Linked DNA regions of Homo sapiens: region 2 is linked to region 1. The links are contacts of gene promoters, found by promoter capture Hi-C in blood cells and fetal thymus (Javierre and others, 2016). All regions are on one chromosome and are shown on one strand. Each heading gives the region's core, a stretch centred on a gene start or on the middle of the fragment in contact. The rest is flanking DNA. Distances are from core to core; before and after follow the strand shown. Region 1 holds the start of NOL7 (nucleolar protein 7). Region 2 holds the start of RNF182 (ring finger protein 182).

The links. Contacts are between HindIII fragments. The CHiCAGO score rates a contact against its expected background, and 5 or more counts as called.
Region 2: the fragment with the promoter of RNF182 here is called in contact with the fragment with the promoter of NOL7 in region 1 in 3 of 17 cell types (non-activated CD4 T cells, activated CD4 T cells and total CD4 T cells); the score reaches 8.7 in non-activated CD4 T cells.

Annotation. Positions count from the first base shown.
Region 1 is chr6:13,613,437-13,618,048 of GRCh38, forward strand. NOL7 (nucleolar protein 7) reads left to right here and starts at 1,899. Exons shown (of 8, transcript NM_016167.5): 1 at 1,899-2,188; 2 at 2,276-2,336; 3 at 3,027-3,085; 4 at 4,334-4,365. The coding sequence starts at 1,923. It overlaps SIRT5 (sirtuin 5), which reads left to right. Exons shown (of 10, transcript NM_012241.5): 10 at 1-1,722. LOC124901263 (a long non-coding RNA gene) reads right to left here and starts at 1,766. Exons shown (of 2, transcript XR_007059461.1): 1 at 1-1,766. RefSeq lists an enhancer at 1,112-1,281. The HindIII fragment of the contact is 25,604 bases long and covers 1-4,612 here.
Region 2 is chr6:13,921,397-13,926,412 of GRCh38, forward strand. It overlaps RNF182 (ring finger protein 182), which reads left to right and starts at 3,556. Exons shown (of 3, transcript NM_152737.4): 1 at 3,556-3,627. RefSeq lists an enhancer at 2,451-2,951. The HindIII fragment of the contact is 2,801 bases long and covers 2,981-5,016 here.

The sequences.
Region 1 (4,612 bases), core at 649-3,148:
TGTATGAAGGTCACATATGGCTCCCTGAAGTGATTACATACTTGGACCACATCACCTCAGCCCCTTGCAAAATTGCATTTAATGTTACACCCTTGGCTTTTGTAGAAACAGGCAACAAGACACTATCATATAAAACTTTGTACTGCATTGCAAGGCATAACCTTTAATAAATCCCAGTGGTCCTTTGTGTAGGGAACGGGGATGCTCATAGCCTATGGGGCGGCTGGAGAACCAGTCAGGGACCCTGAGGGCTCGATGTACACTTTACATGGGTGGGCCAAGGAGTTTACACTGAGGGCACTGGTAATACCTGTAATAGTCTTATAGTACTTATAAAGCAGTTTTGCACATAAAATACCATCATGCACTTATAAGTTTGTTCTTGGGCTGCTCCAAGTTAACTTTATTCATTTTCCTAGTGTTAGTGTCTCAGGGAGTCTGATTATATTTTTGATTTGTAATTTCTATCTGACTAAGGCCTAGAGATTTCAAAACTGTTCTTTGCAATTCCTCTCATACTGAACCTCTGGTTCAGCAGCTTTTTTTGTTGTTGTTGTTTTCAAGTTTTATCATTTTTGTTCCTATTTGGTTTTGTCGTTTTTAAATTGAGAATTGCTTCTAAAACAGAAGACATGAAAAGAGAATTAAAAATACAATATATGTGTAAGATAGAATTATTCAACTTAGCATTTATTAAACATCTACCAGATGATAGACATTAGAAATAAAATGACTAGCAAGACCTGGCCCTTCCCCTCAGGGGTTCACAGAATGGCTGGAGCAACTGTCATATAAGCTGTTATGAAGTGCAGAAACTACACAGACATTTGTGCGGGTTCAGACCAGCGCAATTAGAGATGGGCAGAGTGGGATGGGGTAGGGGTAAGGTGCTTGAAATTTGCCTGGGTGGGAATTTTTGAAGTATAAAAAGGACTTCTACCTGGGGGGCTGCGGCAGTAGAGGGAAGAGCACGGTCGGTACAAATGCATGGCAGGTGTGAAACAGTTTGATTTGTTCAAAGAATGATGAATCACTTAGTGTTGTATAATGGATGGGAGGAGAGAAACACAGCGATCACAAAGGGCCATGTTTGCCAAGAAATAAAATATACTTGGAAAAAAAGTACGTATGTGTATATACCACAAAACTCGGGTGCATTCTCTAGGGACCGGCGAAGCCATTCTTTCAGGAGATATGCTCAGCATTTGCCACGGGCCAGCTGCTGTTCCAGGTCGTGGGTTAGGGCCCGGCACCAGGAAGGGCGCCCCTCCCACAGGGCCGACATCCTAACCGGCGTCGCTGCGGCCGCGGAGCTGGGAAGGCCGAGGGCGCCGGGCACGTCTGTGCAGATTTCTTTAGAGTCCAGGTCTGTCGCCCGCGTCTTCGTCGGTGGCAGCAGGGCTGACTGGCCACGGCGGCCATCTGCTAGAGCGCATTTCTTCCCATGAAACGCCACCTCCTCCGAAGTGCGGAGCGAACGCAGCCAAATCTACACAAAGACTGACAAGCTGGATCCACTCGACGGAACCCAGGGCCAAAAAACGGCGGCGAGCAGCGCCTCGGGCCCGCGATTACCGGTTTTCTGAGCACCGGACAGCGTGAGCCGTGCCAGCCCTGTCTCGCCATCCCAGCCGAGGAGGGCAGCGCGATGGCTCTTCCCTGCCTTGAAATCAACCCCATTGCCAGCCGCTTTCGCCGGCAGAGCATTTTCCGTGGGGTCCATCCGGCTCCAAGGCGGCCTGCGCTGGCCACGTGGAAAGAAACACGCCCACTGCCTACAGGCCACGCCCTTCCTCCCTTCGCGCATGCGCCCCACCCGTCCTGAGGACCTCCGAACCTGCAGGGGGCGATGAAAGTAGGCTTGCGCTCCGCTTGTAGCTGCTTCCGGGTCAGAGGTCAGACGGTCTAGCGCTGCGTGGGCCATGGTGCAGCTCCGACCGCGAGCGTCTCGCGCCCCGGCGTCGGCGGAGGCGATGGTGGACGAGGGCCAGCTGGCCTCGGAGGAGGAGGAGGCGGAGCACGGGCTGTTGCTCGGGCAGCCCAGCAGCGGCGCGGCCGCCGAGCCCCTGGAGGAAGACGAGGAAGGGGACGATGAGTTTGACGATGAGGCCCCGGAGGAGCTGACTTTCGCCAGCGCCCAGGCGGAAGCGAGAGAAGAGGAGCGGCGAGTGCGGGAGACCGTGCGCAGGTTCGGAGCCCGCTGCCCGGCGGGGAGAACCGCCCTTTCTCGTCCCGCTTGTCCTTCCCTTTGCTGACTTATCACCCTTCCTCCCAGGGATAAAACGCTCCTGAAGGAGAAGAGGAAGCGACGCGAGGAGCTGTTCATCGAACAGAAGGTTAGAGGCTAGGGAGGAGGTGTCTTATTAAAACAACTCGGCTCAGGGAGAATTCCTATGGTGGATGTAATTTGGGTTGGCAGGATATTGGAGTGGGGAAACAGTCACCAAGATTGCCTCTGACAGTGGTGGAAAGATGCTCGGGCCGGGCGCGGCAGTACTTTAGTTGGACGAGGTGGGCGGAGCCCGGGATGTCGAGGCTGCCTGGAGCCGAGATCACACCACTGCGCTCCAGCCTGGGCGACAGAGCGAGACCCTGTCTCAAAAAAAAAAAGTTCGTCTCCTTTAGTGTCCACCAACTGAAAATAAGAGGTTGCTGTGAGAATTAAATGAGGTGATTTGTAAACTGTAAGGGCTGTACAGACTTAGTGTATGGTTGCTTTGCTGTCTGATACTCGACACAGAGAGCTGGCTCCAGGCAGACATTACTTAACTGCTTTCAATTTATAACAGTGACCTGAGGGTTAGAATACCGTGGGCACCCTTTCTAGTTTTCATCAAGTCTTTCAGAGAATGTGGAGTTTTGTGGACCCGGTCTTCCCATAGCTTAGAGGTATGGGGGCAGTTTCCAGCCTAATTCATTTCTTTGCCTAGATGTAGGGCATTCTTAAAAGCGGTAACTTCAGAAGCAACTCCGGACATACTATGTACATGACTTTCTATTAATTTTAAACGTTTTCATTCCAAAAGAAAAGAAAACTCCTTCCAGACACTATTTTGGAGAAGTTAACCACAGCTTCACAGACTAAGTAAGTAATGGATCTTTTTATATTACTTGCTTATATACACCCATCTTTGAATTATATACTGGTACATTTATTTGAATCCATATAACTGAAGGAATTGTAGAACCCAAATTCAAAAGCTACCTTGGTATATGAATTTGATGGGAAAGACGGAGGTAACGTTCTACTTCTTATTTTACCATTTATTTTTGTTCATTCCCATAGCTAGCTTTTGAATTCCTGATCCCATTGTGTTCATTCAGTACATTTTGTTGACTGCCTGTCATTGTACTAGGGCATAGTGGGTGGTGGTGAATAAAAAGTGTTTTGAATCATTTAGTGGGGTAGCAGGCACTTATCCACAGGCTCTGAAAACTTGATTTGTCCCATACTTGCCTTACCTGCCACCAACCTGTCCTTCCTGTTCCCCACTTCATTTAGCATCTTTGGTGTTTTATGGTTTAAAGCGAAAAGCTATAGTCGTCTTTGGGAATTGATCAAACCCTACTAAATTTAGCCTTCTAAATTTTTTTTTTTCTATCCTCTTTTTCTCCCCTTAAGGCTTTAAATTCAGAAATTCAGCCCCCTTTTGCTTAGGCCAGTGACTCTCAAGTTTTCAGTAAAAAAACTTTACCAAAGAGTTACTCAGATCCTGAATACATTAAACGTAAGAGCAAATCTATTTGGTGGCAAATTCCCTTTCATCTTTTAAAACCAAGCTCAAGTGTCACCTTTACCTTCTCATTTGCCCCCCCCCACCTCCCATCACTTCCGCTTTTGTGTGGCCTTTCTCCTGTGCAAATGCTTCTGTATTGTATTCTGTCCATTTACATTTCTCTCTCCATTGGGCCACAGCCCCCTTGAGGCTGTTCCCTGTCTCCTGTGCCTAAACTATTAAATTAATCCTTTGTGATTTCTCCAAATGAAATGAGGCAGACCTACTCCCATTCACTTCATATTTCAAATACTTTATAACTTGTTCTGAACAAGTGTTTCACTTGAACTCCATTGCCCACAGCATTTTGCTGCTTTGAAAGCCTGCTAATAGGCTCTCAGATTTTAACTGTGAAGATCTTCCAATGCTTGAGAGTTGGTGGCAGTGTACTAGGGAGTGACTATTGCTTTCCAAACTGATGAGAGCTCCTGAGTAGAAATTGAGGGTGTTGGTAATGAAAGGGGGTGTCTTACTTGTAAAGGCAAATGAAATAATATAACATGTTTTGAGTAATCTTTACTGCCATTGCAGTCAGTGGTTTTGTTTTTTTTCCTTAGCATCAAGAAATCGCCAGGAAAGGTGAAAGAAGGTATGACTATTCTAATTTAACTAACTTCTCATGTAAGTGTCAAGTGCACTTGCAGATGTTTCCAGTCAAATATGAATGGCCCTTAGAAAGCCAGCATGGGCCTGGCCAAGGTTAGCTGGGGCCTATTCCCTGTATTTCATACAAATAAAAACTGCATCCACATTGGTGTGTAGTGGATGCTTAAAGTGAACTCCAGTAAATTTCCTGATTTATTTTTACGTGAATGCTAATTAGAAAATGTAACTCT
Region 2 (5,016 bases), core at 2,306-4,805, 310 kb after region 1:
ACTCAGTTACAGTTCCAATCAGACCATTTAAAGGAAAATGAGAGATTTATCTCTATATATAGATGAAAGATTTATATATACATATATAGACTAACTTGAATTGAAGGTTAGTAGAGTAAGTGAGAGAGCTGGCCAGGCACAGTGGCTCACGCCTGTAATCCCAGCACTTTGGGAGGCCGAGGTGGGCAGATCATGAGGTCAGGAGATTGAGACCATCCTGGCTAACATGGTGAAATCCCATTTCTACTAAAAATACAAAAAATTAGCCGGACGTGGTGGTGGGCGCCTGTAGTCCCAGCTACTCGGGAGGCTGAGGCAGGAGAATGGCGTGAACTTGGGAGGAGGAGCTTGCAGTGAGTGGAGATTGTGCCACTGCACTCCAGCCTGGGCAACAGAGTGAGACTCCGTCTCAAAAAAAAAAAAAAAGTGAGAGAACCAACAAAGTATAATAATAAAAGTAATAATAGTTAACATTTATTCAGCATTGTAGACAATCAAGCATCTAATTTTTACAACTCAAGGAGGTAAGTATTATTATAATCCCTATTTTATAGGTAAGGAAACTGAGGAACAGATGTATTAAATTGCTTGCTGAGGTCATGTAGTTGATAAACAGAGCTGAGATTCAGGTCCAGGTAATCTGACTTTAGTGTCTGTGCTAAAATCTTTCTAAAATATAAAAGCATAAGCTAATGCTTGCATATAATAGGATTCTAATAAGTTGAAATTATTTAACAGAAATTGCCATACTGTGGCATCTTTATGAGTTGGGGAGCATTAATAAGGTAATTACATTTTAACTAAAAGTTAAGAAGAATAGCTAACTTTAGATTTCTTAATGATATTTTGCTATAAACACTAATTCTAAAACAGAGCTGTCCAAAATGTCACATATATAATTTATAATTTTCTAATAATCATGTTAAAAAAGTGGAAAGGAACAAAAGTTAATGATTTTAATAACATCTTTTATTTAACTCAATAAATTCAAAATATATTTTAACATGTAACCAATATAAACATTATTAATAAGATATTATTTTTTTAAAGTTATTGTTCCAAGTCTTTGAAATCTGGTGTGTATTTTGCACTTACTGAACATACCAATTCAGTAGCTAATTCATATGTGGCTAGCAGTTACTGAATTAGACTGTGCAGCTCTAGATCTTTTTAGGAAAGCAAATTCATTATTTTAACCTCATTTCAAAAATGGTGAGAATAAGAAAGACTAGTCATGTATCCACACATTAATTTTTAAGCTTTAGTATCTTCAGTTTCAGTTTAGCTAAACAGACTAAAAGCTGCCACTTAACCTATTCAAATGATATCCCCTGGTAAGTAAGGTGGCACATTTTAAGATGGTTTCCTGACAAGTCTTTTAATTTTCTCCAAGAGGCAGAATGGAAGCAGACCTTAAGATAAAGCTAAACCTCTTTTGGAAAAATGAATGTCTGGAAGAATGTCTCACAGAATAACGCAGGACCAGGTCACTAAGCAATGCTCTAAGTGGGGACACAACGTGGACTTTTCCAAGCCTTCAGCTGAGGGCAGGGATGGCCAAGTCAATGGTCCCTCCCTGTTCTGTATTCAGTTTTTGATCAGGCAGTAATGTGCATGCAGGTCAACAAACATTTATTAAAGCTTTTTGTTTTTGCTTCTTCATTGATAAATTACTAATAAATGCTCATTTGAAAAAGCCAAACAAACCAAATATGTGTACTAAATTGTACATCGTAAGAGGTAACTGTCCCTTCAATTTTTTTTGTAGTTAACAGGTTACCACTTCTAGCAATTAGGTAGGCATTCTTATAGACCTTTATCCCTATGTTTTTGTTCTGTTCCTATATATCCAGTTTTTTTGTACAGAATGGGATCACCCACACATACGGTTCTGAGCCCCCCTTTTCCATTTAATAAGAAATCAATATCTATGAATTTTATATATTTTATTCTTATTAATGGATGCATAGTATTACATGGTATGAAGTGCCACATTATTTAACCATATCACTATTGATGGGCATATAAGTTGTTTCAAACATTTACTATTACAAAACTTCTGCAATGCATATCCTTTTATATCTATCATTACACATTTGTGTGTTTCTGTATGACAGATCTCTAGAATTGAGATAGCTGGGAGAAATGTATGTGCATTTTGAATTCTGGCAGGTATTGCCAAATGCTTAATGGCCTGCCAAAAAGACCTTGTCTTTTGACTTCATCTGGAATATTATTGACTTCATTCAGAATATTCCCATTACAAGAAAGTGGCCAGTCTCTCCGAGGAACAAACTGTTTTCCTTTTCCACCATGAAATAGATCTTATCTTTTCATTAGTTAATATAGGTGTACCTTCAAATGGCAATAACATTGTTCTGCTTTGTGGCTTCTCAAGTAGTAAACCCAGAAAACATCAGCTACCGTGGATTTTATTATAAATCATTGACATTCCTTTGGTGATTCACAAATGCCAAAAAATAAATGTCATGTTCCCCAGGGTTTGAAGAAAGACACTGTAGCTTTTGGATTCAGCAACGGATCTTTCAAGAAAACAGTATGGAGGGATGACTCACTCCCCCCATGGAGGCTGCCCTCTAGTTCGTCCTTTAGAGGAAGCATGACCAAGGGTCTGCTGGTACTTTTCTCTCCCTCTCTAAGAATTTCCTCAGGAGAGGAAAAAGTTAGCTTTCTTTTCTCTGCTCCTGAGTGCCATGGCCTGCAGTACGTGACCAGTCCTTGGCACAGAGTCACTCAGGGCTCATGGTAGATGCTTAGCGGTCACAGCCAGTAGCTGCGCAGTGTGGCAGCAGCTGAGATCCATACTGCAGCCTGAAAGTTGTGTTTCAGCTTCTGAGGTTACAAGTGTATCCAGTGTTTACATCAGAGATAAAGCCCCCTTTCCCCTCTCTCCTACGGGAGCCCTCAACAAGACAGATACACGGGTTGGGTGGAGTGAGACCACATCCAGCAGAGGCAAAGCTTGCTAAAAGAGAGAGGAGGAGGAGGGGGAGAGGGAGGAGGCGGCACGGCGTCCCTTGGCAGCTCCGTGCATGCTGCGGCAGTTGCAACAGGAGAACCGAGTACCAGTTGCTCAACACTTTATCACTTTGCATTGCTCTTTCTCCTCCCTTAAGTGAATTTCCATTTTGAGGGTACAGCTCCACAGGAGAAAGGTGTGGTGGTGGTAGTGGTGGAGGGTGTCTGTGGGGGGGATGGTGGTGCGACGGGAGTTGGAATGTCCAGTGTGGGGAAGCAAAGGAGTGCCTACTAGGATGCGAATACCACTTGGCCCTGGGCTCGCTCCGCTTTAGCCTTCCCCTCTCGCTGGGGAGAAACAGGCGGTTTGTGAGGGAGACTGAGAGAGGGGCGTGTTTGTGGTGGTGGCGGCCCATCGGGGGTCCTTGTCCTCTCCGAATACCCGGACTGCTGAGGGGAAGGGCCGGGGGGGCCCCGGCGGTTGCCATGGTGACGCAGGGTCGGCGGCTCAGCGCCGTAGAGACAAAGCCGCCCGCCCGCCAGCCCGCTAGCTCCTCGCGCGAGCTCCTCCTCCACGGGAACCTCCCTCCCCTCCCAGGCGCCGCCGCAGCCGGAGCGGCTCCCGGGCCCTGGGCCGCCGCCGGCCAGGTAAGGCGATCGCGCCCGCGGCCGGGGAGGGGTCGGCGGGACGCCGGGCCTCCCCAACGCTGGGGCAGCAGCCAGCCCCGCAGTCCTGGACGGCGCCGGGCCGCCCAAGCGCGCCGAGGAGAGGGGGCGGCAAACTTCGGGCCGAGCGGCGCCGGGGCCCGCGCGCGGAGTCTCCCTCCGGGCACCACGGGGGCCGCCGTCCTGGCACCAACTTGAGGGGCTGTGCGGCGGAGGGCGGCTGCGGAGCGCCCGCGCGGGCTGCACCTGCTCAGGGAGCTGCCCCTCTGTTGTTGTTGTTATTTTCCTTCTTGGCGTGCCATCGAGGCTTTTGGGGGAAAAAAAGGTATGAAAGTATTTACCTTTGGACTTTCATGTTTCATGGCATTCTCTTTGAGGAGGGGTTGGGAGGGTAGTAAGAGGGACAAGCGAAAGATTTTTACGAATCTCTGAAAAGTGAGCCCATTTTTATGCCTGTGGCTGAAGCATTTTGAGGAGGCTTCTGAAGTTCGTTTGGATATTGAATCGAAAGACCTTTTTTTCTTTGGAAGGTGCAGTTGCACCTATAACTGGATGGTAAGGGTAGCCCGGCTTTCCCCGACTAGCAAGACCAGAATGTAGAGCAGTACCGATACTTTGTCAAGGAGATACTTGGCACCGAGGTCATTGCTTTTGTTTCTAGAAGGTATTGTGTTCATGCTGTAAGGAACTGGAAAGTGCCTTTTGTTTTTATGTGTAGGGAGGCAATCCAAAGCACCTCTGGAGGCAGGTAGCTGGGCGGTGTTTGCATCGGTGTTTATGAGTGGGATGATGAGGACCACGATGCGGTTGCCACTGGGGCACTGGATAGGTTATAGGTACCTTTCTCAGTGGCCCCAACCCTTGCAATCATTTCGTGATAGTTTGTTGCAGACGCGAAGCACAGATTTAAATTGTGACTGTGAAGACTTTTTTTTTTGGTACTTAGACATCATCTTACATGTAGTAATATGAAAGAAAACAGATACATTTTCAGAAATACAGTTGATCAATTCAGAAGGAAATTGTATATATGTTAATAAGATTTGTTTTAAATCATATTTAAACAATATGAGATGTCATATTGATAACTGGAAAATAATCTAACATATAAAATTGTATATCCAACTTAGTAAAATAATGTATAAGTTGGAATAGGTCATTTAAAGAACTATATGGAATGCAAGAAATTATATTTTTGCTAGAGAGTAATTAATGAAAACAGTACCACTGATCATTTTGAATTGCAGTTAAGTTGATTGGAATTCTGCATATTACAGCTACTTGAGGTGTCAGGCAAAGAGTGATTATTTAATATTCCTCTTCCCTCTTTTGGGATTTCAACACCTGTTAGCCTGCTGATTACTAGGTTTC